2 separate regions of the Homo sapiens genome follow, and region 1 is linked to region 2. The links are contacts of gene promoters, found by promoter capture Hi-C in human tissues and cell types (Jung and others, 2019). All regions are on one chromosome and are shown on one strand. Each heading gives the region's core, a stretch centred on a gene start or on the middle of the fragment in contact. The rest is flanking DNA. Distances are from core to core; before and after follow the strand shown.

Region 1 (5,729 bases), core at 1,372-3,871, 100 kb after region 2:
CTCTCTTGGGAAGGGATAAATGGCAGCTACTCCCTAAACCCATACTGCAAAAACAAGTACGGTAAAACAGAAAGACATCTTCCATGGGCAGGCAAAGCACATTTACCAAGTCCAATTTAAGAAACTTAGCTAGGGGCTAAGGGGGATATGCTGAAAAATGAATCAATTCTCTGCTGGGAAGGAGCACAGCACAGGGTGCAACATTTAAAACATTTAAAACCACATCTATACGGTTTTAAATCACCAAAACGTCCACCCTCAGGAGAACAGATGTCATGGCACAGTGATCTGACAGAACATTAGGCAACAGTCAAAATGCGCAAAGTGGCCGGGCGCAGTGGCTCACGCCTGTAATCCCAACACTTCGGGAGGCTGAGGCGGATGAATCACGAGGTCAGGAGTTCAAGACCAGCCTGGCCAACATAGTGAAACCCCATCTCTACTAAAAATACAAAAAAATTAGCCGGGCATGGTGGTAGGTGCCTATAATCCCAGCTACTTGGGAGGCTGAGGCAGGAGAATCACGCCACTGCATTCCAGCCTGCATGACAGTGCGAGACTCCGTCTCAAAAACAAAAAAACAAACAAAAAAACAATGTGCAAAGTAGGCTGGGCACAGTGGCTCATGCCTGTAATCCCAGCACTTTGGGAGGCCAACGTGGGAGGATCACCTGAGGTCAGGAGTTCAAGACCAGCCTGGCCAACATGAGGAAGCCCCATCTCTACTAAAAATACAAAAATTAGTGGGGCGTGGTGGCGCATGCCTGTTATCCCAGCTACTGGGAAGGCTGAGGAAGGGGGAAGCTGAGGCAGGAGAATCGATTGAACCCAGGAGGTGGAGGTTGCAGTGAGCCAAGATTGTGCCATTGCACTCCAGCCTGGGCGACAGAGCCAGACTTTGCCCCCCCCCCAAAAAAAAAAGTGCAAAGTAGGCTGGGCATGGTGGCTCATGCCTGTAATCCCAGTGCCTTGGGAGGTCCAGGTAGGTGGAGTTCAAGACCACCTTGGGCAATATAGCGCGACCCTTTCTCTACAAAAAATTTAAAAATTAACTAGGCATGGTGGTGTACACCTGTAGTCCTGGCTATCTGGGGTGAGACAGCTTGGGGTTCACTGCAGTCTCAAGCTCCCAGGTTCAAGTGATCCTCCCACCTCAGCTTCCTCAGAAGCTGGAACAACAGGAGCTCACCACTGCGCCCGGCTAATTTTTCAAATTTTCTTTGTAGAGAAGAGGTTTCACTATATGGTGTAGGCTAGAGTGCAGTGGTAGGGTCTTGGCTCACTGCAGCCTTCATCTCCTGGGTTCAAGCGATTCTCCTACCTCAGCCTCCCGAGTAGCTGGGATTACAAGCACGTGTCACCACACCCAGCTAATTTTTGTATTTTTAGTAGAGACGGGGTTTCACCATGTTGGCCAGGCTAGTCTCTCCTGACCTCAGGTGATCTGCCAGCCTTGGCCTCCCAAAGTGCTGGGATTACAGGCATGAGCCACCGCGCCCGCCCCCAGTCTCATATCCCCAATTTTAGTCATCACAAGCCAAGTTCCCCGTTTTGTACTGTTCGAAGTTTCAGTGGGGAGAAGAAAGGAAGCTTAATGTGCCACATAGCTACAAACTGAAGGATACAAGATGAATTTTTATGAAGTGATGGATGGCAGAGTCAAAATCATTTCAGAGGAACTTTCAGTTCGGTACGATTTTACTGAGTAGATACCCTCAGCCTTCTGTAGGGCCCCCGAACGAGCAGTATCCCCTCAAAGAAACTCAATCCTTGGCAGCATGAAGCAAGGTCGGCCACAAAGGCAAAGGGGGCGGCTGCGGTAGAGGAGAGGGAGTGGGTGCTGATTCCCAGCGGGGCAGCCTTCCAAAGGGTGCGCTCTGGAAGAATCTCCCAGGGAGCCGTCTTGGAGGCACTCGGCCCCGCGGAGGGCCGGAGCGAGGGCGCCCAGTGAGGAGCCCAGGCGGAAGGTGGCGGTGCCCCGCTGCCCGCCCCAGATCCACTCGGCTCGGCCCGCACCGGATCTAAAATGGTCAGAACTGGCAGCCGACGCTTCGCGCTCTGGTGATTTTGCACTGACAGCGCGATCTCCGGCTCCTCTCAGGAAACCGGGAGAGCTGGCAAGGCTGGGCTCCTACGGCTGCAGTCCCCGGGCCCGATCGAGGGAACTGAGGCTCGTCAGGCCGGCCCCAAATCGCCCGCCTGTTGCAAGGCCGCCCGCTCCAGCGCGGAGGGTCGCGGCCAGGAAGGCCGCATTCGGACCTGCCGCAGGCAACAGGGCCCGCCCGGGTGCCAGGAGGCCGGCGCGCCAGCAGCCGCGCTGAGGAGGCCTCGCACCCTGGCCCCTGGCCGAGCGCCAGATCCCGGCCCCTACGCGCCCGCGCCCGGGGATCCCGCCGGCCGCGTCCCCGCCACGTCAGGCCGCGGGCTCTCCTCAGGTCGCCGCCCCCGAGCCTCCGGCCCGCGCCCGCCCCCGCGCCCCTCGGACTCCGCGCCGCTAGCTTGTCCCCGGCCCAGCGATGCCTGCTTGCCGCCCGACCCCCGCGTTCGCTGCCGCCCGGCCCGTTCGGCTCACGCCTCGCAGCTGACCTGGTGCCGCCGCCAGCCGAGGCCGCACTCGCAGCTGGAGGGAGGCGGGAGGCGGGAGGCGGGAGGCGCGAGGCGGGAGGCTGGGCGAGAGGAGCCGGCGGGGCGGGGGCCTGGGCCGTCACGTGGGTGCGCCGCGCAGGCGCCGGGCGGGCCAGACGTAGGCCCGGGGGTTCCCGGCCTGGCCGGGTAGCAGCGCGGGGGCGGCCCTGGGGCGGGGAGACAGGGGGCGGCTCCACTCCGGCGCTCTGCGGAGGACAGCAGCGATCGCCAAGGCTCAGTGAGTCCCCGCACTAGCGCGGCACCTGGCACTTGGCGGGGCCGAACCAACGAATGAGCGAATTTGCCGAGAGTCGCCCCGTCTGAATCCATTGACTCTTTCCTTGCCTCGGTCCTACCCTCATTCCTCGACTCACTTCCTCCTGCCCTTCCTCACTATCTCCCTCCCCGCTCATATCCTCCCTCTCCTTTCCTCATTCCCTTCTTCACTCTCTTCTCTCCTCTCTTACTCCCCCCCTCTCATTCCCTCCCTCCTTCACTCTCTCATTCCTTCCCTTCCTATCTTACCCACCATTCCCTTCCTCCCTCACTCATTCACTCCCTCCCTGTCTCCCCCTCTCATCCCCTCCCTCTCTCATTCCCTTTCCCTCCCTCCTTAACTCTCGTTCTCTCCTCCCTCTCTCATTCCTTCCCTCCCTGTCTCATTTCCCCCCTTCTTTCCCTCCCTCCCTCTCCTCTTCTCCCATTGCCTCCCTCCCTCTTTGATTCCCTTCTTTCCTCCTCTCCTCCACTTGTTCCCTTCGTCACGCGCTCATTCCCTCCCTCCCGCGGCCTGCTCCTTCCCCGCTCCCTCCGCGGTCGGTGCCGCTGACCGTAGCGCGCCCCCTGCGGGATATCGGGGAGAATCGCTTAACACCGCCAGAGTGAACAGGTGCTAGTTTGTGTGCCCGTTCCTTTACTGAGATTTTGCAGTAAATCTAATTCCCAGTCTTAAAGCCTGGTCCCAGAGGTCCGTGCGCGGGTCTTGGCATTCATTGTTCTCCACCTCACCTTCGAGCAGGTCCCATCCTCCGAGGCGTATCCGTAATGGCTGCGCCCAGAGCTTGGAGCCACAGAGCCTCCTGATGGGATAAGGTTGGAGTGTCCCACACTGTGGTTTTGAGAGGGACTGTGAAGGGTGGAGAGAGTGGTAGGGGGAGGATGTGGCTGGAGATGGCTCATGGTTAAAAAGAAAGGTGGGGCCGGGCTTGGTGGCTGGCGCCTGTAATCCCAACACTTTGGGAGGCCGAGACGGGCGGATCACGAGGTCAGGAGATGGAAACCATCCTGGCCAACATGGTGAAACCCCATCTCTACCAAAACACACACAAAAAAACTAGCCGGTCGTGGTGGCGCGCACCTGTAGTCCCAGCTACTCGGGAGCCTGAGGCAGGAGAATCGCTTGAACCCGGGAGGCAGAGGTTGCAGTGAGCCGAGATCACGCGCCACTGCACTCCAGCCTGGTGACAGAGCGAGACTCCGTCTCAAAAAAAAAAAAAAAAAAAAAAAAAAAAATTGGTGGAAGGGGAATGTAAAAGGAGGAAAATACACGGAAGAGAATTGCTGTCCTGGCTGAGTCCAGAGAGATAACTGAGGGTCCCAGACAAGGATCAAGAGAACGGGATTGGCCTCCAGAGGCAGAGGTTCCAAATGGGAGTGGGCTTCCTCCTAGAAAGACTTTCTGGAGGAGACCCCCCTACTGTGTAACAGAGGAGGACTTTGGGATTAAGAAAAGCATTCCAGGAAGCCGACAGTGTCAGCAAACGTGGAGGTGAGATCCTTCAAAGTGAGTGGTGTGGAGGTTTCCAGAATTTTCTGAGCCTGAAGGGAAGGTTGGAGAGCAGACCCTGCCCTTTGGAGGCTTGACTTAGCCCTGAGGGCACCCTGTAGCCAGGGTGGGCAGATGCCAATATGGTAGAGACGAAGACTGAGTAGGGAGCCAGCCACAGTGCTGTGGTCTCAGGCAGGGAGTGAAGACCAGAGTGGAGCAGGCTAGAAACCTGGGAAGGAAGCAGGTTCCCCAGTATAAGCCCAGTGATGTGTGAAGAATGAGCCCAGGAGATGGGTGGGGAAGTAGGCCCACCCTGCCTACAGGGGAGCCAGAGCAAGAGCAGGTCTGGGGGAAGATGAGGCCCCCCTTGGCTCCAGGTAGGGGAAGACTGACCTCCAAGGCCCAATGGGACCAGGTGTACGGGTGGACCCAGAGAGGAGAGGAAAAGGAATCCTGGGGCAGCAACAAGAAGGCCACTGTGGTCTGAATGTCGGTACCCCCAAAATTCATATGTTGGAACTGAATCCTCAGTGCGATACTATTATAAAGTAGGGCCTTTGGGAGGGGTTTAGGTCATGAGGGTGAAGTCCTCACCATGGGATCAGTGTATAAAAGAGGTTCGAAGGAGCTCATCCCCCACTTTTGCCAGGTGAGGACACTGTAATAAGCACCATCTTCAAGGCAGAGAATCGGCTGGGCGCAGTGGCTCACGCCTGTAATCCCAGCACTTTGGGAAGCCGAGGTGGGAGGATCATGAGGTCAGGAGATCAAGACCATCCTGGCTAACATGGTGAAACCCCATCTCTACTAAAAATACAAAAAATTAGCCAGGCATGGTGGTGGGCGCCTGTAGTCCCAGCTACTTGGGAGGCTGAGGCAGGAGAATGGCGTGAACCCGGGAGGCAGAGCTTGCAGTGAGCTGAGATCGCGCCACTGCACTCCAGCCTGGGTGACAGAGCAAGACTCCGTCTCAAAAAAAAAAAGCAGAGAACGGACCCCTCACTAGACACTGGGGCTTTTTTCTGAAGGCTACTGTGTCATATAAAATTTATATTAAATAAATTGATATGCTTTTCTCTTGTTAATCTGTCCTTTGTTAGAGGGGTGTCAACCAGGAACCTTGTGATGCGTGAGGAAAAAATATTACCTTTTCCCCCTACTCTTTCTGGCACCCAACAAACAAGTGGGGTGGCAAAGACACCCCACTTGGGACAACTGGCAAAAGGTAAGCATTCTTACCAAGGTTAACTGTCCCATATCACTGCCTGTAGTACTCAGCTGAGAGTGGAAGGTAAAAACTTCTTGTCCCTTCCTTTCCAAATTCAAATTAGCAGAA
Region 2 (5,988 bases), core at 3,258-5,757:
TTGGTTAGTAAAATGCCTATGACTAGTCATCTTCATCTATGCAATTAAATATTAATTCATCAAACACTTCAAATGTAAGCAATTAATAATTAGTGAATGAAAAATACATAATACATCAATTAGAAAAAAACTCTATTAAAAAGACATTTGTGTGATAAAAGAGATTGCCATTTTTGTATTTTTCTACAAAGTTAAAGAAAACTAAGTCAGCTTATATAAGTGAATTTTAAAAGCCTTTAGGCCAGGCATGGTGGTTCATGCCTGTAATCCCAGCACTTTGGGAGGCCAAGGTAGGCAGATCACCTGAAGTCAGGAGTTCGAGACCAGCTTGGCCAACATAGTGAAACCCATCTCTACCAAAAATACAAAAATTAGCCAGGCGTGGTGGCAGGTGCCTGTAGTTCCAGCTACTAGGGAGGCTGAGGCAGGAGAATTGCTTGAACCCGGGAGACGGAGATTGCAGTGAGCCGAGATGGTACCACTGCACTCCAGCCTGGGCAACAGAGTGAGACTCCATCTCAGGAAAAAAAAAAAAGGGCATATATATCCATTATTTCACTGGGCCTTCACACAGCCCTGCTAGTCAACCCTCGAGAATTGAGGAATCAGAGAACTTAGGAACAAGAACATGACCTGGGACTTCTTATGTAAGTGAGAATCTTAGGCTAAATTGTCTTGCGGTAAATGCCTTTCCCATCCTCAGAAGTCTATAGTGAGCAGAAAGCAGTAACAGCATCCTCCCTTCCACTCTTCCCTTCAGGCTGAACACATCCCTGTCCCTACAGCCTTTGCAGAGACACAGGTGACAGAGCACTCAATATAGAATCCCTGGGCTCACACTGGCTTTCCTACAGACACAGGGGATCCATGAGGCCCACAGTGACATACACATGTACACAAGGATGCACGTACTGACACTGATGAGCCCTGGAAGTCAACACAGAGTGGCATACAGAAGAACACATGCAGGCACACACACAGCCACAACTGGACCTGCGAGGTCTACAGCCCCACAAATGAAAAGAGGTGCATACCATCTCACAACAAACTAGAACTTTGAGAGAACCACACACACACACAGGTCTACAAATTCACCTGAACAAGACGCCGTCCATAGTCACTGGCGTAAGGCATCTACTCACTATCACACAGAACACACTCAGGCAAGCAGACATAGATGATACATCCACAATCTACAGAGATGAACTGCAGAGTTACATGCACAGATATGCCAGTCATACATTCAGATCTGTGTAAACAGTGAGGCACACACACACATACACATGTGCACTTATACAGAAAGACTCAGACCCAGCCAGGCATGGTGGCTCAGGCCTGTAATCCTAGCACTTTGGGAGGTCGAGGCGGGTGGATCACGAGGTCAAGAGATTGAGACCATCCTGGCTAACATGGTGAAACCCCATCTCTACTAAAATTACAAAAAAATTAGCCGGGTGTGATGGCGGGCACCTGTAGTCCCAGCTACTCAGAAGGCAGAGATTGCAGTGAGCTGAGATTGCGCCACTGCACTCCAGCCTGGACAACAGAGCGCGACTCCATCTCAAAAACAAAAAAAGAAAGACTCAGACCTGACCTGTTAGTCAACAGCCAGATGCCAACAGATAATCACATTAGACTCATCAGCAAGCACACCGTGCACACAAGTTCCACTCCCATGTACAGGTTCCTGTCCCATGTACACAAGCCTGCACACAAACACGTATCCAGACTCCAGAACTGTTGAGACAGTGCCCACATACACACTCATAGAGTCACCTGTGCACAGGTGCACGTACACATTGTTTCACAGAGGCACACCAGGACAGAAACACATAAGAAATGTGAGGCAAAAGCGGACCCACACCTACACCTGTAAGATACACAGAGAAACAAACACATACACAAACTTACACATAGACTCATGCACTGTGTAATCAACAGTTCTATACCCCACCAAGGCTCTTGTCCTGGTGTGTCCAGAATTGGTGGGTTCTTGGTTTCACTGACTTCAAGAATGAAGCCACAGACCCTCGTGGTGAGTGTCACAGTTCTTAAACGCAGCGTGCGCGGAGTTTCTTCCTTCTGGTGCGTTCGTGGTCTCGCTAGCTTCAGAAGTGAAGCTACAGACCTTCGCAGTGTTAACAGCTCATAAAGGCAGCGTGGACCCAAAGAGCTAGACACAAAAGTTCTCCACGTCCCCACTAGATTAGCTAGATACAGAGTGTCCACTGGTGCATTCACAAACCCTGAGCTAGACACAGAGTGCTGATTGGTGCATTTACAAACCTTGGGCTAGATACAGAGTGCCAATTGGTGTATTTACAATCCCTTAGCTAGACATAAAGGTTCTCCAAGTCCCCACCAGAGTAGCTAGATACAGTGTTGATTGATGCATTCACAAACCCTGAGCTAGACACAGAGTGCTGATTGGTGTGTTTACAAACCTTGAGCTAGATACAGAGTGCCGATTGGTGTATTTTCAACCCCTTAGCTAGACATAAAGGTTCTCCAAGTCCCCAGCAGAGTAGCTAGATACAGTGTCGATTGATGCATTCACAAACCCTGAGCTAGACACAGGGTGCTGATTGGTGTGTTTACAAACCTTAAGCTAGACACAGAGTGCCCACTGGTGTATTTACAATCCCTTAGCTAGACATAAAGGTTCTCCAAGTCCCCACCAGACTCAGAAGCCCAGCTGGCTTCACCCAGTGGATCCCGCACCGGGGCCGCAGGTGGAGCTGCCTTCCAGTCCCGCGCCGTGCGCCCGCACTCCTCAGCCCTTGGGTGGTCGATGGGACTGGGCGCCGTGGAGCAGGGGGCGGCGCTTGTCGGGGAGGCTTGGGCCGCGCAGGAGCCCACGGCGGTGGGTAGGCTCAGGCATGGCGGGCTGCAGGTCCCGAGCCCTGCCCCGCGGGGAGGCAACGAAGGCCCGGCGAGAAGTCGAGCACAGCAGCTGCTGGCCCAGGTGCTAAGCCCCTCACTGCCCGGGTCCGGCTGGCAGCTCCGAGTGCGGGGCCCGCTGAGCCCACGCCCACCCGGAACTCGTGCTGGCCCGCAAGCGCTGCGCGCAGTCCCGGTTCCCGCCCGCGCCTCTCCCTCCACACCTCTCGGCAAGCTGAGGGAGCCGGCTCCGGCCGCAGCCAGCCCAGGAAGGGGCTCCCACAGTGCAGCGGTGGGCTGAAGGGCTCCTCAAGCGCGGCCAGAGTGGGCGCCAAGGCCGACTAGGCGCCGAGAGCGAGCAAGGGCTGTGAGGACTGCCAGCACGCTGTCCCCTCTCACTGGGTTGCTATTAAAAATGGGCGCTGAATATAAAAATTAACCGGGCGTGGTGGTGCATGTCTGTAAGTCCCAGCTACTCCGGAGGCTGAGGTGGGAGAATAGTTTGAGCCCGAGAGACTGAGGCTACGGTGAGCCGTGATTGTGCAACTGCACTCCAGCCTGGGCGACAGAGTGAGACCCAGTCTCAAAACAAAATCAAACACGGGCGCTGCCCTGGGCAGGGGAGGTCTGGGCACAGCTGTGCTGATGTGGGCAGTGGACAGGTGTCACGTGAGAGCCTGTGGCCAAGCCTAAGCTGCGGTTAAGGTGGGAGGCTGAAGGGTTTGGAGTGTGCACCACCCCGGACCACCTCTCAGTAGGAATGTGGCAATGCACTTCGGTGCTGGATTCCTACTTCTGGCTGTGTGATTTGCGACACGTTACCCCACGCACCTGTACCACAACTTCCTCATCTCCCAAATGGGATGACAGTAGTTAGCAAACCTCCCTGGACTGCTGTGAGCATTCTGCCAGAAAAATGTACTCCAAGCTCTTGAAGTAGGCCTGGCGTTTGGTTGGTGCTCAGTACATATTCAATGTTTCTGTCGCTGGCGTCATCACTGTGTTCATGGCAGAGCTCTGTGCCGCCAGGACTGGGCCGCCACCCAGACCTTCCTTTCCCGCCCCAGGGGTGAACTGTGGACAGGACCCTCTGGGGGGACTAGGCCAAGGCTCTCCCACCTCTGGGGACCCGCGCCCATGGGCCTCAGATATGTGGCTCGAGAAGGGGGAGTGGGGGCAGGGCCCCTGGAAAACCCCTCGAGGCCAGACCCACCACTCCCAATATCCGTAAGACCAGGGGCTTGAGTCTTTCCTGCAGACAGATGTGGGCAGGAACCCACCCGACTCCCAGCTACGTGGGGACGTGGACGAACTAACAGGACAAATTCTAGTTCCTGGACACCGCCCTCCCAGTATCCTCGCAATTAGACACCCATGCAGCGGCACTACACTGATCCGCACACGGAGATACACAGCGACATCCGCCCGCAAGAGCATGGTGGGTGCCGGAGCTCCCGGCTGTGGGCCCAGGAACTACATTTCCTAGAAGGATGTGCTAGATACTCGTTCGCGTCGGGACGCAAGCACCGGCCCGAACTCGCTCTAGGAAATGGAGTCTGACGCCTGCGCGGCGCAAACGCTCCCGGGAGGTGTAGTTTGCGCCTATTTCGCGCAGGCGCGCTTTCCCGCAGCGGCCGCCTGCTGCTCTTTGTGGCAGTCGCAGTCCTTTTGTGGGAGTCCGGTCTGTCCACTTGCCGGTCCCTCAGACCGTCGGCGGTCTCTGTCCGCTTCGGGACCTGTCCGCTGGTCGCTCCGCGTCCGATGGCTCCTGGCCGCGGAACCTTAGGCCTGGCCCTGGTCTCCGAGCGCGGGTTCGCCGGGAGGAGCGTGTGGCGGGGGTGTGCCGGGGCGTGAGTGCGCCGAGCATGGGGCTGAGCCTGGTGTGGGGAGTGGGTATCTGCGGAGCCGGCCTGAACCCCACCTCAGCCGGGCGCGGGGAGGGGGCTCCGTGCGTGTGATCGTGCAGCTGTGAGCGCGTGGCCGCCCCGCGGGGCTCCGCTGCAGGCCCCTCAGCCCCAGGAGCAGTACTCGCTCTTCAGGGCCTGCCCTGGATCCTGGAGGCTACACAGCTGCCCACTCCTCCTGGGGAGGCTGCCGTGGAGGCCATGGAGATCCCTGCCCCGGAGCCCGAGAAGACAGGTACAGCTTCACTCTTGTAGTCAGTATGTCTGTGGATTTGCACTTGAGGATATTGACACTCAGAGAGATCAGGCCAGTTTCCCAGAAGCATCCAGCATCTTTTTTTTTTTTTTTAAATGGAATCTCACTCTGTCACCCAGGCGGGAGTGGTGCAATGGCTTGATCTCCGCTCACTGCAACCTCTGCTTCCCGGGTTCAAACTATTCTCCCGCCTCAACCTCCCAAGTAGTTGGGATTGCAGGCGCGCGCCACCACGCCCGGCTAATGTTTGTATTTTTAGTAGAGACGGGGTTTTGCCATGTTTCCCAGGCTGGTCTTAAGCTCAAGCGATCCGCCCGCCTCGGCCTCCCAAAGTGCTGGGATTACAGGCGTGAGCCATCGCTCCTGGCCTCCTGCTTCTTTCTTCCCCGCGCCCAATCATTTGTTCCCACTCAGACGTGCTTGATTGGGGGTAGCAGCTCTTTTCGTCATGAATTGGAGTGTCTGAGACACAGGCAGATTATTCCTCGATGCTGTTTCTGTTGGTGCTAGCTACTGGGGCTCGTTCCCCACCTGGCCTTGCTGGCAGGTTCTGCCTCCTCTCTGATTCTCACTTGTGCCACGACAGGTGGGCTTTAAGCTCAGCCGTGAGCCTGGTAGCCGTGACCTTGACTCATTTCTCCTTCGCCAGCTCTTTCCTCTCAGGATCCTGCTCTTTCCCTGAAAGAGAATCTCGAGGATATATCGGGTTGGGGTCTTCCCGAAGCCAGGTCCAAGGTGAGTGGCTGTGTGTTCTTCCTTCTTTATGAAGAGGGTTGGCACATTCCCTCCCCAGCCCTGGATCGTCAGCCTTCCACAGACCTTCACCCGGGTACCTGCTGGCCAGTCCTCAGGAAGCTCTGGGCAGTGGGAACAGCTCCAAGTGAAGAGTCCAGATGTTGCCCGAGGTGTGCCCTCGAGATGTGCTCTATTGAATGTCTCGCCCAGTCC

Evidence for each region. The method cuts DNA at HindIII sites, captures the fragments that hold promoters and counts their contacts. A contact is called where the count stands out against the background at its distance.
Region 1: a contact is called between the fragment with the promoter of KLHL22 here and the fragment with the promoter of ZNF74 in region 2, in 6 of the 25 tissues and cell types used here (IMR-90 fibroblasts, bladder, liver and 3 more).

The regions. Positions count from the first base shown.
Region 1 is chr22:20,493,174-20,498,902 of GRCh38, forward strand. It overlaps KLHL22 (kelch like family member 22), which reads right to left and starts at 2,622. Exons shown (of 7, transcript NM_032775.4): 1 at 2,587-2,622. LOC101928824 (a long non-coding RNA gene) reads left to right here and starts at 2,740. Exons shown (of 4, transcript XR_007068011.1): 1 at 2,740-3,514; 2 at 5,494-5,618. RefSeq lists a silencer at 2,282-2,941 and an enhancer at 3,136-3,788. The HindIII fragment of the contact is 15,001 bases long and covers 1-5,729 here.
Region 2 is chr22:20,389,644-20,395,631 of GRCh38, forward strand. It overlaps ZNF74 (zinc finger protein 74), which reads left to right and starts at 4,508. Exons shown (of 5, transcript NM_003426.4): 1 at 4,508-5,019; 2 at 5,690-5,775. The coding sequence starts at 4,986. RefSeq lists enhancers at 3,618-4,607, 4,009-4,078, 4,549-4,688. The HindIII fragment of the contact is 17,508 bases long and covers 1-5,988 here.